2 separate regions of the Homo sapiens genome follow, and region 2 is linked to region 1. Evidence: promoter capture Hi-C in human tissues and cell types (Jung and others, 2019). All regions are on one chromosome and are shown on one strand. The core of a region is centred on a gene start or on the middle of the fragment in contact, and the rest is flanking DNA. Distances in the headings are between cores, read along the strand shown. Region 1 holds the start of SLC1A5 (solute carrier family 1 member 5). Region 2 has its middle 12 kb from the start of C5AR1.

Region 1 (4,057 bases), core at 614-3,113:
AGCTGGGACTACAAGTGCATGCCACCATGCCCAACTAATTTTTGTATTTTTAGTAGAGACAGAGTTTCACCATATTGGCCAGGATGGTCTCGATCTCCTGACCTCATGATCTGCCCACTCTGGCCTCCCAAAGTGCTGAGATTACAGACATGAGCCACCATGCCTGGCCTATTTTCATGTTTTTAAAGATAAGGTCTCACTATGTTGCCCCGGATGGAGTCTAGTGGCTAAATGTGGGCACGATCATAGCTCACTGCAGCCTTGAACTCCTGGCCTCAAGGGATCCTCCTGCTTTAGCCTCCCAAATACCTGGGACTACAGGTGCATGCCACTGAATCCAGCTTGTTCTTCAGTAATAATAACAATAACAGCAATCGCAGCAGTAGTATTTGACTTTCTTCTGAAGGGCATTTTTGTTAGAAACAAAAGAAGAGAGAAAGAACAAAAAATTTTAAAGCACAAATAAATAACTTTTTTTTTTTTGAGGTGGAGTCTCACTCTGTCACCCAGGCTGGAGTGCAGTGGTGAGATCTCGGCTCTTCGCAACCTCTGCCTCCTGGATTCAAGCAATTCTTCTGCCTCAGCCTCCTGAGTAGCTGGGATTACAGGCATGTGCCACCACACCCAGCTAATTTTTGCATTTTCAGCAGAGACAGGGTTTTGCCATGTTGGCCAGGCTCGTCTGGAACTCCTGACCTCAAGTGATCTGCCCGCATCAACTCCCAAAGTGGTGGGATAACAGGCGTGAGCCACTGCGCCCGGCCGTATTATCTCATTTGAACCCTTGCAACACTCAAGGCGGTATGACTTATTATTATTCCCATTTACACATATGAAGACTGAGCCTCATAGAGGTTGTAAATTACCTGAGGCCTCACAGCTGCTGTAGGAGGAAGCTTCTGACATTACCACTACAATCTTTGAGCAAGCATGAAAGCCTGAAATGTCACAGAACAGGCTAGAGATGGGAAAGGAATGAGGATTTCAACACTGTCAGGTGGAGTAAGGAATCATAATTCATTGTTAACCTCCCAAACGGCCACTAACAGAGAATTTGGGGAGGCAGCAGAGTGGGTGCGGTTAGGGGCTTGGGAGGTGGGCATGCACGTGTCATCCTCTCTAGGTGTGGCCTCAAGGTGAATGACTTCCTCTGCCTCTGGGGTTCAAGCGATTCTCCTGCCTCAGGCTTCCAGTAGCTGGGATTACAGGCACGTGCCACCACACCAGGTAATTTTTGTATTTTTAGTAGAGACGGGTTTCACCATGTTGGCCAGGCTGGTCTCGACCTCCTGACCTCAAGTGATCCGCCCGCTTCACCTCCCAAAGTGGTGGGATTACAGGCTTGAGCCACGGCTCCCTAAATAAATACATCAATTTTATTTAAATCTTACAGCAATCATATGAGACAAAAGCTTTTAACACCTGCACTTTATATTCGAGGAATTAAAGTTCTCAGAGGCGACTAAAGACCAAACTCAGGGCTGAGGAGTTCCAAAGCTGAGTTGAGTTGCAAATGAATCACCGAGGACCACCGGAGCTTTCTAGCGACCCTCGCACCAGGGAACGAACCCCTGTGGTTTAAGGGCTCCAACCCACAACCCAGTTCCTTTGGCGGGAAACAGCACCCTCCCAAGGCCCCGCCCCTTCCTGGCCCCGCCCCGTCGTCTCTGGGCCCGGCTCCTGGAGATGGGTATTATTAATCTGCCTTCTATGGGGGACCTGGCCCATCTCGGGTATCAGCCCCGCCCCTACTCGTCCAGTCTCCGAACGCTCTGCAGCCAATCGGCGCCCGAGGGTCGGTCCCCGCCTTCTCAAGCCCCGCCCCCTACCCTTATCCCTGGCAGCTTCCGCTAAACGGGCTCAGAGCCACGCGGCACGCCCGGGAGGCTTTCTCTGGCTGGTAACCGCTACTCCCGGACACCAGACCACCGCCTTCCGTACACAGGGGCCCGCATCCCACCCTCCCGGACCTAAGAGCCTGGGTCCCCTGTTTCCGGAGGTCCGCTTCCCGGCCCCCAGATTCTGGCATCCCAGCCCTCAGTGTCCAAGACCCAGGCAGCCCGGGTCCCCGCCTCCCGGATCCAGGCGTCCGGGATCTGCGCCACCAGAACCTAGCCTCCTGCAGACCTCCGCCATCTGGGGGCACTCAACCTCCTGGAGCCAAGGGCCCCACGTCCCACCCAGAGAAACTCTCGTATTCCCAGCTCCTAGGGCCAAGGAACCCGGGCGCTCCGAACTCCCAGCTTTCGGACATCTGGCACACGGGGCAGAGCAGAGAAGCCTCAGCGCCCAGCCTGGGGAATTTAAACACTCCAGCTTCCAAGAGCCAAGGAACTTCAGTGCTGTGAACTCACAACTCTAAGGAGCCCTCCAAAGTTCCAGTCTCCAGGTGCTGTTACTCAACTCAGTCCTAGGAACGTCGGGTCCTGGGAAGGAGCCCAAGCGCTCCCAGCCAGCTTCCAGGCGCTAAGAAACCCCGGTGCTTCCCATCATGGTGGCCGATCCTCCTCGAGACTCCAAGGGGCTCGCAGCGGCGGAGCCCACCGCCAACGGGGGCCTGGCGCTGGCCTCCATCGAGGACCAAGGCGCGGCAGCAGGCGGCTACTGCGGTTCCCGGGACCAGGTGCGCCGCTGCCTTCGAGCCAACCTGCTTGTGCTGCTGACAGTGGTGGCCGTGGTGGCCGGCGTGGCGCTGGGACTGGGGGTGTCGGGGGCCGGGGGTGCGCTGGCGTTGGGCCCGGAGCGCTTGAGCGCCTTCGTCTTCCCGGGCGAGCTGCTGCTGCGTCTGCTGCGGATGATCATCTTGCCGCTGGTGGTGTGCAGCTTGATCGGCGGCGCCGCCAGCCTGGACCCCGGCGCGCTCGGCCGTCTGGGCGCCTGGGCGCTGCTCTTTTTCCTGGTCACCACGCTGCTGGCGTCGGCGCTCGGAGTGGGCTTGGCGCTGGCTCTGCAGCCGGGCGCCGCCTCCGCCGCCATCAACGCCTCCGTGGGAGCCGCGGGCAGTGCCGAAAATGCCCCCAGCAAGGAGGTGCTCGATTCGTTCCTGGATCTTGCGAGGTCAGCTCCCGCTCCCCCGGGAGGTGGGGAAGAGTGTTACGGATGGCGGGAGTGGTCACGTGGACAGGACGGGGCTTTGGGGCCCCTGGAGCAGAGACTTCCCTCTAGAGTCTTAGGAAAACTCGACAGGATATTGAGGGGAGGCTCCAGCCCTCGGGAGTGTGAGTCTAGTCTCCTGGGGAAGGGGTTTCTAAATCTGGGGGCCTGGGTACATAAGTGGGGTCTTATAGAGGGAGAAGAAAGTGATTTGGGGAGACATAGGAGGGTCTGCCTAGGGGAGAAAGACACTGAGGGGAGGGGACCCCAGGAGGAACTTTTGCGGGGGGAATCTTTGCGTGGTCAAGGGCCCCAAGATGGGGCTTCTAGATATAATTTGGGGCCAGGGTTGGAGAGTTTGGGTAAGGAGCCCCTGGAGGATCTGAGATCTGAGTAACTCCCACCAGGCCCTCTTCCCAGCCCTGGGGCACCCCCACACCACGTGTCACTCGGACATAACCAGGCTCTGTTTTTGGCCTCCGCTTCCCGCCCATTTCAGCTGGGGTCTGGCCGCTTCCCCTTTATCTTTTAGATCAGCCCTGCCACCCCTGCCTTTCCCTCCCGTTTCCTCCTCTGTCTGGGCCACCCCCTAGCAGGCAGCCCAGAAGAGGACCAGTTAGAAAGGGGAGCAGATTCTTTTCCTTCTCCTGGCCTCTGCCCCGCGCCCCCAAGAATGGCCTCCCCCACTTTGAGGAGGGCGGGGGGCAGAGGCCCCCTTGCGCTTGCCTTTAGGGCTTGCTCATTCAGTGTCTCCACGTTGGGGACTTCCTGGAAGTTGGGGGAAGGAAATGATGAGTCACGGAACAGGGTTCTCCAGCCTCTGGGGCGTCAGTGCAGGCTGAGATGCGAGACTGGGGCAGGCTTGGTGTCCCGAGTTGAAGCCTGGGAGCACCTTCTGGCTGGGGGAGATTAGCTGGGTCCTGGCCCAGCCTGGGCCTGGGTGGTACAGGCGGACCTTCAGGCA
Region 2 (4,057 bases), core at 1,046-3,545, 510 kb before region 1:
GCAGAGGTTGCAGTGAGCTGAGACCATGCCACTGCACTCCAGCCTGGGTGACAGAGCAAGACTCCATCTCAAAAAAAATAAATAAATAAAATACACAATTTAGCCAGGCATGATGTCACTCGCCTGTAATCCCAGCACTTTGGGAGGCCAAGGCAGGCAGATCACGAGGTCAGGAGTTCGAGACCAGCCTGTCCAACATGGTAAAACCCCATCTGTACTGAAAATACAAAAATTAGCCAAGCGTGGCGGCATGTGCCTATAATCATAGCTACTCGGGAGGATGAGGCAGGAGAATTGCTTGAACCTGGGAGGCGGAGGTTGCAGTGAGTCAAGATCATGCCACTGCACTCCAGCCTGGGCGACAGAGCAAGACTCCGTCTCAAAATAAATAAATAAATAAAATACACAAATCAGCCAAGCATGGTGTCACGCACCTGTAATCCCAGCTACTGGGGAGGCTGGGGCAGGCGAATCACTTGAGCCCAGGAGGCAGAGGTTGCAATGAGCCGAGATGTCGCCATTGCACTCCAGCCTGGGCGAACAGAGCGAAACTCCATCTCAAAAATAATAATAATAATTTTAAAATAATAGTAATAATCATAGTGCTTGCTCAGGACCAGGGGCTCTTCTAAGCCTTCATAACCAACAAAGTAGGTGGAGATGAGACGTGCAAGCTCACAGAATGCAGAATGGAGGCCAGGCGTGGTGGTTCATACCTGTAATCCCAGCACTTTGGGAGGCTGAGGTGGGAGGATCACTGAGCTCAGGAGTTCGAGACCAGCCAGGCCAACATAGCATGACCCCATTTCTACAGAAAAAAATTGTTTTTGGCCAGGCGCGGTGGCTCACGCCTATAATCCCAACACTTTGGGAGGCCGAGGTGGGCGGATCATGAGGTCAGAAGATCGAGACCATCCTGACTAACGCGGTGAAACCCCGTCTCTACTAAAAATACAAAAAATTAGCCGGGCGTGGTGGTGGGCGCCTGTGGTCCCAGCTACTCGGGAGGCTGAGGCAGGAGAATGGCATGAATCCAGGAGGCGGAGCTTGCAGTGAGCCGAGATTGCACCGCTGCACTCCAACCTGGGCAACAGAGCAAGACTCCGTCTCAAAAAAAAAATTGTTTTAAATTAGCCAGGCACAGTAGCACACACCTGTAGTCCCAGCTACTCAGGAGGCCGAGGTGGAAGAATCACTTGAGCCCAGGAGTTATCCGACCAGCTGCAGTGAGCTGTGATTGTGCCACTGCACTCCAGCCTGGGCAACAGAGTAAGACTGTGTCTCTAAAACAACTAAAAAAAAAAAAAAATACAGAATGGAAGCTGATATTATTACACTGAAAATTCTAGAATTCTCTAATTCTAAAGTTGTAAGTGTTTAAGAGTGTGATTCGAGTCGAATGTTGCTTACCTGAGGCTGAGAAGGGAAGGTGGGAGGGAGACATAAAGAAAAATGGGTTAATGGGTACAAAAATACAGTTAGAACCAGATGCAGGGACTCACACCTATAATCTCAGCACTTTGAAGGCCGAGGTAGGAGGATTGCTCGAGGCCTTGAGTTTGAGACCAGCCTGGCCAACATGGCGAAACCCTGTCTTGATTAAAAATACAAAAATTGGCCGGGCACAGTGGCTCACACCTTAATCCCAGCACTTTGGGAGGCTGAGGCGGGCAGATCACGAGGTCAGGAGATCGAGACCATCCCGGCTCATATGGTGAAACCCCATCTCTACTAAAAATACAAAAAAATTAGCCGGGCATGGTGGCGGGTGCCTGTAGTCCCAGCTACTCGGGAGGCTGAGGCAGGAGAATGGCATGAACCTGGGAGGCAGAACTTGCAGTGAGCTAAGATCGCACCTCTGCACTCTAGCCTGGGCAACAGAGCAAGACTCCGTCTCAAAAAAAAAAAAAAAAAAAAAAAAAAAAAAAAAATTAGATGGGCATGGTGGCACATGCTTGTAATCTCAACACTTTGGGAGGCTGAGGTGGGGAGATCACTTGAGGTCAGGAGTTCAAGACCAGCCTGGCCAACATGGCTAAACTCCATCTTTACTAAAAATACAAAAATTAGCTGGGAGTGGTGGCGGGTGCCTGTAATCCCAGCTATTTAGGAAGCTGAGGCAGGAGAATCACTTCAACCCGGGAGGTGGAGGCTGCAGTGAGCAGAGATTGCACCACTGTACTGCAGCCTGAGTGACAAAACAAGACTCTGTCTCAAAAAAAATACAAATAATAAAATAATGAAGATGCTAACCTGAGCTGGCTTGAGGAACAGGGCAAACGGGTCCAGGTGGGGAGTCCCCTTCAGTTACCCAACTTTAAGGCCATAGCCCCCTCGCTACCAAAGTGTGTTTTCTCGATCCGCATCATCAAGCTTCCTGGACATGTTAGAAATGCAAGATCTTGGCGGGGCGCAGTGGCTCACGCCTGTAATCCAGCACTTTGGGAGGCCAAGGCAGGTAGACTGCCTGAGGCCAGGAGTTCGAGACCAGCCTGACCAACATAGTGAAACCCTGTCTCTACTAAAAATACAAAAAATTACCTGGGCGTGGTGGTGGGGGCCTGTGATCCCATCTTTCACTCGCGTCCGTGTGAAGACACCACCAAACAGGCTTTGTGTGAGCAATAAAGCTTTTAATCACCTGGGTGCAGGAGGGCTGAGTCCAAAAAGGGAGTCAGCGAAGGGAGATGGGGTGGAGCTGTTTTATAGGATTTGGGTAGGTAAAGGAAAATTACAGTCAGAGGGGGTTGTTCTCTGGCTGGCAGGGGTGGGGGGTCACAAGGTGCTCAGTGGTGGAGCTTTTGAGCCAGGATGAGCCAGGAGAAGGAATTTCACGAGGTAATGTCATCAGTTAAGGCAGGGACTGGCCATTTTCACTTCTTTTGTGGTGGAATGTCATCAGTTAAGGCAGGAACAGGCCATTTTCACTCCTTTTGTGATTATTCAGTTACTTCAGGCCATCTGGATGTATACGTGCAGATCACAGGGGATATGATGGCTTAGCTTGGGCTCAGAGGCCTGACACCATCTACTCGGAAGGCTGAGGCAGGAGAACTGCTTGAACCCAGGAGGTGAAGGCTGCAGTGAGCCGAGATCACACCACTGCACTCCAGCTTGGGTGACAGAGCGAGACTCTGTCAAAAAAAAAAAAAGAGAGAGAGAGAGAGAAGGAAAGAAAGAAGAAAGAGAAGGAAGGGAGGGAGGGAGGGAGGAAGGGAGGGAGGGAGGGAGGAAGGAAGGAAGGAGGGAGGGAAATGCAAGAGCTGTGGTCCTGCTCCAGCCCTGCTGAATTAGAACCTGCATTTTAACAAGACCCCCAGGTGATTCCTGGTCACCTTTAAGGTATAAGAAGCGCTGAATGAGTACGTCACCAGGAGACACTGGCCGGTTCCCTTCCTGCTATCATCATGTAGATGGCGCCCCCTTGTGGAGATTTTATTGAGACAAGGTTTGGCTCTACCGCCCTGGCTGGAGTGCAGTGGCGAGATCTCAGCCAACTGCAGACTCGAACTCCTGGAGCAATCTTCCCACTTCAGCCTCCCGAGTAGATTGGACTACAGGCACGCGCCACCATGCCTGGCTGATTTTTTTTATTATTATTGGAGAGATGAGGGGGTGTCTCGCTATATTGCTCAAGCTGGTCTTGAACTGCTGGCCTCGGAGATCCTCCTGCCTCAGCCTCCCAAAGCACTGGGATTGCAGTCATAAGCCACTACACCCAGCCAGCCTTCTTCCTTTATGGCAGGGGGTCTATCTCTTGTTGGATTTGATCATGGGTGCGTGATTTGTAATCAGCTGAAAATCTGAAAGCACGGCAGAGATGTTTTCTTGGAAATAAGCAATTTGTATTCTTTTTTTTTTTTTCTAGACAGAGTCTTGCTCTGTCACCCAGGCTGGAGTGCAGTGGTGCAATCTCGGCTCACTGCAGCCTCCACCTCCCGGATTCAAACGACTCTCCTGCCTCAGCCTCCCGAGTAGCTGGGTTTACAGGCGTGTGCCACCATGCCTGGCTAATTTTTGTATTTTTAGTAGAGACAGGGTTTTGCCATGTTGCCCA

The links. The method cuts DNA at HindIII sites, captures the fragments that hold promoters and counts their contacts. A contact is called where the count stands out against the background at its distance.
Region 2: a fragment that was not itself captured here is called in contact with the fragment with the promoter of SLC1A5 in region 1 in 1 of the 25 tissues and cell types used here (H1 embryonic stem cells).

What each region holds. Positions count from the first base shown.
Region 1 is chr19:46,786,400-46,790,456 of GRCh38, reverse strand. It overlaps SLC1A5 (solute carrier family 1 member 5), which reads left to right and starts at 1,863. Exons shown (of 8, transcript NM_005628.3): 1 at 1,863-3,057. The coding sequence starts at 2,492. RefSeq lists silencers at 1,546-1,705, 2,676-2,725, 2,736-2,785 and enhancers at 1,651-1,945, 1,594-2,195, 4,002-4,057. The HindIII fragment of the contact is 6,368 bases long and covers 1,155-4,057 here.
Region 2 is chr19:47,295,677-47,299,733 of GRCh38, reverse strand. No RefSeq gene overlaps it. Among named protein-coding and RNA genes, the nearest start is that of C5AR1, 12 kb to the left of the region's middle. The HindIII fragment of the contact is 3,838 bases long and covers 377-4,057 here.